Linked DNA regions of Homo sapiens: region 2 is linked to region 1. The links are contacts of gene promoters, found by promoter capture Hi-C in human tissues and cell types (Jung and others, 2019). All regions are on one chromosome and are shown on one strand. Each heading gives the region's core, a stretch centred on a gene start or on the middle of the fragment in contact. The rest is flanking DNA. Distances are from core to core; before and after follow the strand shown. Region 1 holds the start of OPTC (opticin). Region 2 has its middle 30 kb from the start of BMNCR.

Region 1 (5,274 bases), core at 1,418-3,917:
AATCAGATTTTGCCAGGTGGATGAAAGAAAAAAAGACGCCACCTGGACAGGAAACAGCATGAGTACAAAGGTAGGAAGGTGTGGAGTCTACCCTGTGGGGCTTGTGTGTCTGAAAAAGAGGAGAGGGTCATGTTCCGGTCATGGAGTGGAGTTATGTGGCTACAAGCCCTCAGCAGGGGATATACCCCTGTCATCCAAAACACAGGAGGGTTCCTGAACTTCCCCGCCTCTCTCTCCCTATCCATGAAAAGGGCAACAACAGGGTTGGCTGGTCAAACTTCTGTCCATACCACCTGCCGCCTCCGATTCATCAACACGCCTTTTGCCTCTCCTAATGAGAGATTAGGATTAGGACGCCTCCCCCGCCTCCTGCTTCCTTTGCCAGGCTCTTGGGGAGCTGGGCTGCCTGGAACAGCAGTCTGCGGGGTTAGCCGTTTCCCCCACCAGGTCACATGTACACATCCATGGACAGCCCCTAATATTCATGAGAACAAGAGTGTGTGACCTGTGAGCTTGGGAAAGCAAGAGGAGAAGTTGGGAGAGGGTCTAGGATGCGAGCCTGAGTCTGGATGTGGCTCCTGCAGGGAGTGGGGGGAGCAGGTGTGTATGCATTGGGGAGGAACGATGGTGGGGGTGTGGCAACCAAGCAGGGATGGCAGGAGCGTATGTCTCTGGGAAAGCAGGGAGGGAGAGTGGGAGCAGGCGGCAGGGAGAGTGAATGAACACTCGCATTTGCATTTCTCCCAGGAATAAATGTGTGGGGTGGGAGCGGGGAGATTGCCTAGGCTGGCTGTGGGGGTGGAGGGCCTCTGGCTGCAAAGCCCAGGCTGTGGAGAGAAGATGGAGGCATACAGCCCGCCAAATGTGCCATCTGCCTACTGGATGCCCTCCAGGATCCAGGGCTATCTTTCCCTCCACCCAGCAGAGCCTCTGATGGTGTCTTTTCCCAGGTGGGGGGCTGCCAGGGGTACAAGAACATGCTCTTCTCTGGTGACCAGGCTCTTGGGCTGAGGGAAGCCCCCTCTTGCACCAGCTGGAGCCCAGGAACACAGCAAGCCAAATGCTGCCCTCGAGGGCCAGGCTATTAGATCTGCCTCTTCACCTGGTGTGCCAGGGCAGAGATGAGTTCTGCCAAGCCATCTGCTCTGAGGGCCTGGAAACACACGGATTCAGGACTCCTGGGGAAGAAGGTGGAAATGGGGAGGGTCATATGAACTAAAGAAAACTCTCTGACCAGGGAGTCAAAAAATCTAGGCATTGGCCCTGGCTCTGTGTGACCTAGGGCAAGTCACGTCACCTCTTTGGGCCTCACTCTCCTCATCTATACCACAAGGACTTGGACTAGATCTTTAGGGGGCCTCACAGCTGGAATTCAGTATCTGGTTGGTGGAAAGGAGTAGGGAACAAGGAGAGTCACTGAGAAACCTGGGTGGGCGCCAGGGCACAGGCTGGCAGAAGCTGGGGAAGACTCCTTAGCCACCCCACCTCTGCCTTCAGCAAGGACTTGCTCGGCAGCCTGCTCGAGGCACCAAGGAAAGGGGAGTGTTTCCAGATGAATGCCGTTGGCCCTCTGTATCTGTGGGTTCCACATCCGTGGATTCAACCAACCACAGATTGAAAATATTCAGAAAAAAAAAAAATTCACAACGTTCCAAAAAGGAAAACTTGAATTTGCTGTGTGCCAGTACTATGTGGAATCCATGTGAATGGAGTGAGGTGTAAGCATTGTGTTTGGTGTTATAGGTAATCTAGAGATGATTTGAAGTACACAGGAGGATGTGCGTAGGTTATGTGCAAATTCACCATTTTATATAAAAGACCTCAGCATATGTGGATTTGGTATCCACTGGACGTGCAGAACCAATCCCCCATGGTTACTGAGGGACGACTGTACATCTCTGAGGGTGCGGGAGAGGATACTTCCCAGGCCCCCGAGACCCTACACAATGTCTACTGGTGTTTATGATCCTTTCTAGGGCCCACCTCCCAATTTCCATTTGGTTTCCTCCTAGCAGATTTAGAGAATTTCCCGTATCCTCATGATCATCATCTGTGAACTTGAAGTTGGCTTTCAAATCCGATCTCATCCCCCATACACCTTCTCTTTGAACTACCTAGGCCTGCAGCTCCTGTCTCTGGTGATTTTATTCAATTATGGTCTCTGTGCTGGCGCTCTAGGTGAGGGTGAAGTGCCTCATTTCCACCTATTTTTATCTTTGGATTCTGGCTATGAAGCTGAAGCCTTGTCACTCTCTGGCTGGAGAAAGAAGCTGCAAAGACAAGCTCTATCTCTCCATATCCCCCGACTCCAGCCTTCTCTGAGGACTCAGAATCTGAGGGATGGGGCCCCTTCCTTGCAGGGGATGGCACTCCCTGTTCCTCAAAGATGTGGCCTTATCAGGAGAGTGGACAAGGAAAAGAAAGAAGGAGCTGACAGAGTAAGAGGAGAGAGAGCAGGAGCTGGAGGTGGGGGGTGAAGCGGAAGGTGGGGGGAGAATTCTCTTTTGTCAAATACAGGAATGGGGCAGGGGACCCCCTGAGGAAAGAGGAGGGGAAACAGCTGGACATCAGAAGGAATGAGAAGTCTGATTGGTCGCAGGCCTGGCCAACTCCTTGCCCTCCCCCGGGCACCACTGTCTAACCCAAGCCCCAGTTCAGACAGCCTCCACCAGAGTCCCCACCTTTCTGGAAGCTGCAGGGCTCTCCATCCAGGATCCAGAAGCATTGAAGGGGTAAGGCTCAAGGTTGAGGCCTCTGGCCATCGGTGCGCAAATGAGGGCAAAGTGTTTGGCTGGGGCAGGGGATTGGGAAGGGAAAATGAAGAGAGTTTAGGCCTCTGGCCAAAGAAGTTGGACAAGACTTTTGGGTGGGCACTAAACTCTCTTAGAAAAATTTTTTTTGAGATTATGTAATTCGTTTGGGGTGAGGTATGGGAGGTAAGGTGAAGAAACACCTCTTGCTACTGCTAGAGGCTTGCCCCCTTGCCCAGCTAAAATTAAGAAAGGGTGGGGAGGTTAACTGGGCATGGTAACACACGCCTGTAGTCCCAGCTACTTGGGAGGCTGAGGCAGGAGGACTGCCTGAGCCCAGGAGGTTAAGGCTTCAGTGAGCTGAGATCATGCCATAACACTCCAGGCTGGGCAACAGAGTGACACCGTCTTAAAAATAGAAAATAAAATAAAAATTAAAAGATAAAAAAAATTTTAAAAGAAAGAAAGAGGGAGAGTCTACTAGAAACTTGTGCAGCTAGCTTTGGGGAGGGCTGTGTTAAGCCTACACTGGGTATGACTGTTGTATACACTTATGCCTGGATACAAAACCACACCACATGCATTTCCTGACCCGTCTATACATATACGAACTACATGAACATTTGTACTCACATGCATATCACATACATACGCAGGCATCTGTGTGCACACACACACAAATATACACAGGTATCTAAGGAAATTTCCAGATGCGTACACACTCATGCAATCACACACAAAGAACTCTTTTATCTGTAATAATCTGTTTCTAAAAAGCTGCATTTAGAAGTATATTTCATAAACTAACATTCTTTTTTACATTGTATGTTTCATTGTAAGTCCATGTCTCCTAAAGAGACTAGGTGCTCCTAGGAAGGGCTGTGCCTCATTCATTCTGTACCCACAGAGACAAGTCCTGTGCCTGGAACTCAATAGACACCCATAAATGTTTGTTGAGCAAATGCATGAATGGATGATCTTTATAAAAAACCACAAGAGTCAACTGGGCGCGGTGGCTCACACCTGTAATTCCAGCACTTTGGGAAGCCAGGGTGGGTGGATCACCTAAGGTCAGGAGTTCGACACCAGCCTGGCCAATATGGTGAAACCCCTTCTCTACTAAAAATACAAAAATTAGCCAGGCATGGTGGGTGCCTGTAATCCCAGCTACTCAGGAGGCTGAGGCAGGAGATTCGCTTGAACCCAGAAGGCGGAGGTTGCAGTGAGCCAAGATCGCACCACTGCACTCCAGCCCGGGAAACAAGAATGAAACTTCGTCTCAAAAAAACAAACAAACAAAAAGACCCCATAAGATTATTTGATGTTGACATTCTCTAAATCGAGCTTAGTGACTAGCAGTCATGTTCTGAGCATGGGGTTGTTTAAGAGAGGACATCTGTGTGCATGCACCAGTGTGTGCCTCGTTTGTAAACAAGGGGACTCTTGTGAATGTGTCTGTGTTGAGATGTGTCTGCACATGCCTCTGTGAGTGAATATCAGTGTTTGGGTGAGCGTGTAAAAACACTCAAGTGGGGCGGTGGAGGGAGGGGGCTGCTAGGAGATACCCCCCAAGACATAGTCCCAGCTGGTAGGGAATTTGTGCATGTGATGAGAGCACTGAGTCTGCAAGTGTGGGGGTGGGAAGTGGAGTAAATCTGCGAGCCATTCCCACAACACTCTGGAGAGCCTGTCCCTCAGATCGCTGCCCTTCCTCGTGCCCACTTGCCAGGACCAGCCGCTGAAGGGATTCTCAGTCCCATCTGACTCCCCATGAGGCTCCTGGCTTTCCTGAGTCTGCTGGCCTTGGTGCTGCAGGAGACAGGGACAGCTTCTCTCCCAAGGAAGGAGAGGAAGAGGAGAGAGGAGCAGATGCCCAGGGAAGGCGATTCCTTTGAAGTTCTGCCTCTGCGGAATGATGTCCTGAACCCAGACAACTATGGTGAAGTCATTGACCTGAGCAACTATGAGGAGCTCACAGATTATGGGGACCAACTCCCCGAGGTGAGGGACACAGCAGACCAACTACATTCCCTGCATGACACTGGGAGTCAGAGGCCAGGGCCCTCCCATCTGCCCCAAAGTGCGGGTGTCTCCAGCCTCCACCTCTTTCTCTGTGAGGTGGAAATTCTTATCCCTCCATAGGGACTTGTCACTTAGATGATACTAAGAAACAGGACACAAACCTGGGACTTCTCCTTCTTCAAAACTCATACTTGCCTCCCCCTGCCAAAGCTATGTCTCACTGGGGGAGGGGTTCGCAATGTCCTCATCATATTCTCTAGGAAATAAAAGTGCCACATCCCCCATCTCTTTTCTGAAACTGTCCTCCAGTCTGAAGTTCTTTCCCAGGTCCTCTTGGCCTTCACTGCAGCAGCGTGGGGTGCAAGCCCAGAAGCCCCTACTCAATTGTGCGTGAGCCTGGTCGGTGTGGAGCAGGGGAAGAGTGCCGGCCTGGGAAATCGGGAGAGCAGGTTTCGTCTCTGCCTTGACCACCTGCTGGCTCTTTGATCCTCATCCCTCTCCT
Region 2 (4,729 bases), core at 2,184-4,683, 55 kb before region 1:
AAAACAAAACAAAACAAAACAAAACAAAACAAAAAAAAACTCAATTAGTCACCCTAACAACACTGTGAGGTAGGTATTAGCTCTGAGACCCAGAAAGGCTAAGGAATTTGGCCAAGGTACCACAGTTGGTAGAGGGCAGAGCCAGATTTTGAACCAGAGTCCATGTTCTCAAGCACCTCAGTATGAGGCCAGCGTGTGGAAGCTTCTGGAAGTCTCCTCTCTGGAGCAACAGAAGGCACCGCTGTCTATGGGGGTGGTCTCCAATGCAAGAGGCAGCAGACTCCAGGGGCCTGGGGAGCCAATGTGCTGGGAGGAATGCAAGCACGGACTCAGGGCCCTCCGCGGCCCTCAGGCCTGTCTCTCACCTTATGTCTGTCCAGGGCTGCCAGAGGGATAAAATGGATTAATAAATGAAGGTGCTTTGAAAAGCACCCGAATATATCTCGTTGTTCTTCCCCAGGCTGGCCTGGCCTGGAATACCAATGAGGCCTTCTAGTCTGAGGCAGGTCGAAGGGCACAGCCAGGCAGAGGGATGGTTCATGCTCAGCTCAATCAGCCCATCAATCCCCTCCGGCTGCTTTCCCTCTGTTCCTGACCACTCCCACCCCCTTTATCCCCCACCCCGCCCCCAACTCCAGACAGGGAGTGGGAATGAGGCAAAAAGCAAGCAGGGAGCCGCCAGCACAAGAAAGGTCAGGTTGCTTACAAACCACTGCTCAACGAAATAAAAGAGGACACAAACAAATGGAAGAACATTCCATGCTCATGAATAGGAAGAATCAATATCGTGAAAATGGCCATACTGCCCAAGCTAATTTACAGATTCAGTGTCATCCATATCAAGCTACCAATGACTTTCTTCACAGAGTTGGAAAAAACTACTGTAAAGTTCATATGGAACCAAAAAAGAGCCTGCATTGCCAAGACAATCCTAAGCCAAAAGAACAAAGCTGGAGGCATCATGCTACCTGGCTTCAAACTATACTACAAGGCTACAGTAACCAAAACAGCATGGTACTGGTACCAAAACAGAGATATAGACCAATGGAACAGAATAGAGCCCTCAGAAATAATACCACACATCTACAGCCATTTGACCTTTGACAAACCTGACAAAAACAAAAAATGGGGAAAGGATTCCCCATTTAATAAATGGTGCTGGGAAAACTGGCTACCCATATGTAGAAAGCTGAAACTGGATCCCTTCCTTACACCTTATACAAAAATTAATCAAGATGGATTAAAGACTTACATGTTAGACCTAAAACCGTAAAAACCCTAGAAGAAAACCTAGGCAGTACCATTCAGGACATAGGCATGGGCAAGGACTTCATGTCTAAAACACCAAAAGCAGTGGCAAAAAAAAGCCAAAATTTACACATGGGATCTAATTAAGAGCTTCTGCACAGCAAAATAAACTACCATCAGAGTGAATAGGCAACCTACTGAATGGGAGAAAATTTTTGCAATCTACCCATCTGACAAAGGGCTAATATCCAGAATCTACGAAGAACTTCAACAAATTTACAAGAAAAAATCAAACAACCCATTCAAAAAGTGGGCAAAGGATATGAACAGACACTTCTCAGAAGAAGACATTTATGCAGCCAACAGACACATGAAAAAATGCTCATCATCACTAGCCATCAGAGAAATGCAAATCAAAACCACAATGAGATACCATCTCACACCAGTTAGAATGGCGATCATTAAAAAGTCAGGAAACAACAGGTGCTGGAGAGGATGTGGAGAAATAGGAATACTTTTACACTATTGGTGGGACTGCAAACTAGTTCAACCATTGTGGAAGACAGTGAGGCGATTCCTCAGGGATCTAGAACTAGAAATACCATTTGACCCAGCGATGCCATTACTGGGTATATACCCAAAGGACTATAAATCATGCTGCTATAAAGACACATGCACACATATATTTATTGAGGCACTATTCACAATAGCAAAGACTTAGAACCAACCCAAATGTCCATCAATGATAGACTGGATTAAGAAAATGTGACACATATCCACCATGGAATACTATGCAGCCATAAAAAGGATTAGTTCATATCCTTTGAAGGGACATGGATGAAGCTGGAAACCATCATTCTGAGCAAGCTATTGCAAGGACAGAAAACCAAATACCTCGGGTTCTCATTCATAGGTGGGAATTGAACAATGAGAACACATGGACACAGGGTGGGGAACATCACACACCGGGGCCTGTCGTGGGGTGAGGGGAGCGGGGAGGGATAGCATTAGGAGATATACCTAATGTAAATGATGAGTTAATGGATGCAGCACACCAACATGGCACATATATACATATGTAACTAACCTGCATGTTGTGCACATGTACCCTAGAACTTGAAGTATAATTAAAAAAAAAAAAAAAAGAAGAAGAAGAAGAAGAAGAAAAGAAAGGTCAGGCCGCTTAGAGCAACAAGCCCCTCCTGATTTACAAGATTCGGTCCGCGCTGCGAGTTTTGGGATTCCACCGAAATCCTTTGGCCCATCCTGCAGTGGCTTGGCACCGGGTTTGTTTTCCAGGCAGATTGCCTCCACCTGCCCTGGAATTTTTCTGGCAATGAGGCCAGCACAGTCAAGGAGAGGGGTCTGGGAGAAGGAGAGCTAGTAGCACCCACCCTGTGGAATGGCAGGAGGCTCTACAGGTCCCTTTGGCATTTGTCAGAGGAGCTAGGAAGGCGGCCTCAACTTCCACCTGTCCCCTCATCCTACTTCTCCCGGGAGCAGGCAGCTGGGTCAGCCAGCCATCAGGATCCAATACAGACTCACCCTAGCTGTTTGGTTTCAGTCTGCCCAGGACGGCAGCTGGAGCTGCGGTGTGGTGGGCAGAGATAAGGTCTCCGCCAGAGGCGGGCATTGAGCAGGGCTGAGATGTCTGGGCGGGAATGGGATGTGGGAGGGGCCACCCTAATATGCGGGATATCATCAGTCCGCTGCCCATCTGAAAAGAAAAGACAGGGACAGGGGCACAGAGAGAGGGGTGGGGGTAGTTCTAAAAGCCCAGGGGAAGGAGAAAAGGAGGAGAAATCAGGATATTGAAGAAAAAATAAACAGATATGGTGGAAAAAGAAGGGAAGAAGGAAAAAAATATTTTTGCATCCTCCTGGAAAGCAAAACAGAGAAAATAACTTCATTCCTAAATTGCAGTAGGAAGTATTGGGCTAGATGGGAGGAAGAAGAGAGGCCCTACCTAACTTTTATCCACTAGCCTGAGTTATACAGTGAAATGCCTTCTTTAGAAGTTCCAGGATAGGATGAAATGCTTTAGAGGGAAGAGAGGGGTCAGCCCTAAATACATGCAGGGAAGTGGGCCAAAAGACCTCTGAGAGGCCCTTCTAAGTAGACCTTAAGATTTTCTAAGAGGGAAAAGACAGAGAAGGCAAAACAACTCTAAGAACCAGAGGAAGGGGCAGAACTGACATTTATTGAGAGCCACCATATCAAGCACAGGGCTGGGCACGCTGCAGACATTATCCCATCTGTAATTCACACTCCAGCCCTCCAAAGTAGGTGCTATTTCTCTGTTTCACAAGTGGGTAATTTGAGTAATATACAAGGCTCTCTTAGTTGAATGGCAATTAAGTAGCAGAATCAGGATTTGAACTCAGGTTTGACACAAATATCCATGGTCTTTCTACCAGGCTCCTTCTTGGGAATGGGCAGTTGGAGGATTCTTACTGGTGGTAGAGGAAGCTGAAATGGTATAATGGAGAGAAGACTGAACCTCAAAGACCAAGGTCAAACAACTGGATCCAACAAGTAAATGATGTCCTGTGACCTTGGACAAATAATTTCCATATCACAGTCTCAGTTTCCCATCTTATAAAGTGAGGGTGGGGGCTAGATGCTCTCTAAAGCCTTTTCCACCTCTGAGCATATGGAATTTAGCTGGAAACTGACTTCCCATTTACTACTGTAGCTTCTCATTTCCTACTGCTGGTATTATGTAATCTTCTGGGCATAAGCTCTAGGTGTGAGAACCGTTCCTGCAGCCTGTTCAAGATTGAAGTCAAGACTGGAAATTATAATGACATTGCCTTAAGTGAGTTTGATCAATGAATAAGTAGTTAACCAAATAAAGAAATAATTCTTTATTAAGCCTCCCATGTGCCCGGTGTGATGTTTAACTGATAATACAAAGGAGAATTGGACTTGATTCTTCAGCTCCAAGGAATTTACAGGCTAATCAGAAATCCACACCCACAAAGGATGTTTGCCAAGTGTGATCAGAAATCACTAACATCTTATGGAAAAGCTTTGAAAGCCATGGCTGCATCAGCCTGCCTCTCCCACTTAGAGACGGGAAAGTTTATGTGAGCCAGGGTCGAGGCTGTTTGGGACTGTGTGATCTCTGTTTTGACGGCTGTGCTTTGCCTCCCTTGATGCTGGCTGCCTCTCACACATTGCTGAAGCCGTAGTTAATTGTCTCTGACTGTAATCGATCATCTCGGAGTGGGGAATCTGGTGCACTGGAACATGACCAGTCTAGGACCATGACCATGGTTCAGTCTAGGACCTGTCTAGGGGGAGACAGACCAGGAATAACAATTCATGGGGATGGCATGAGCATGCGGCAAGCAGAGAGAGGCATGTTGCACTTAGGAACAGTGACCAACCTGACTTCAGAAGGTGAGGTCCTCGCAGGAGAGACCACTGGTGTCAGGAGAGATCAATGGTGTCAGGAGGAGCTGGAGAGACAGGGAGA

The links. Contacts are between HindIII fragments. The study calls those that stand out against the background at their distance.
Region 2: a contact is called between a fragment that was not itself captured here and the fragment with the promoter of OPTC in region 1, in 1 of the 25 tissues and cell types used here (IMR-90 fibroblasts).

The regions. Positions count from the first base shown.
Region 1 is chr1:203,491,486-203,496,759 of GRCh38, forward strand. OPTC (opticin) reads left to right here and starts at 2,668. Exons shown (of 8, transcript NM_014359.4): 1 at 2,668-2,732; 2 at 4,480-4,751. The coding sequence starts at 4,521. RefSeq lists an enhancer at 1-773 and a silencer at 2,161-2,389. The HindIII fragment of the contact is 22,199 bases long and covers 1-5,274 here.
Region 2 is chr1:203,435,267-203,439,995 of GRCh38, forward strand. No RefSeq gene overlaps it. Among named protein-coding and RNA genes, the nearest start is that of BMNCR, 30 kb to the left of the region's middle. The HindIII fragment of the contact is 7,865 bases long and covers 1-4,729 here.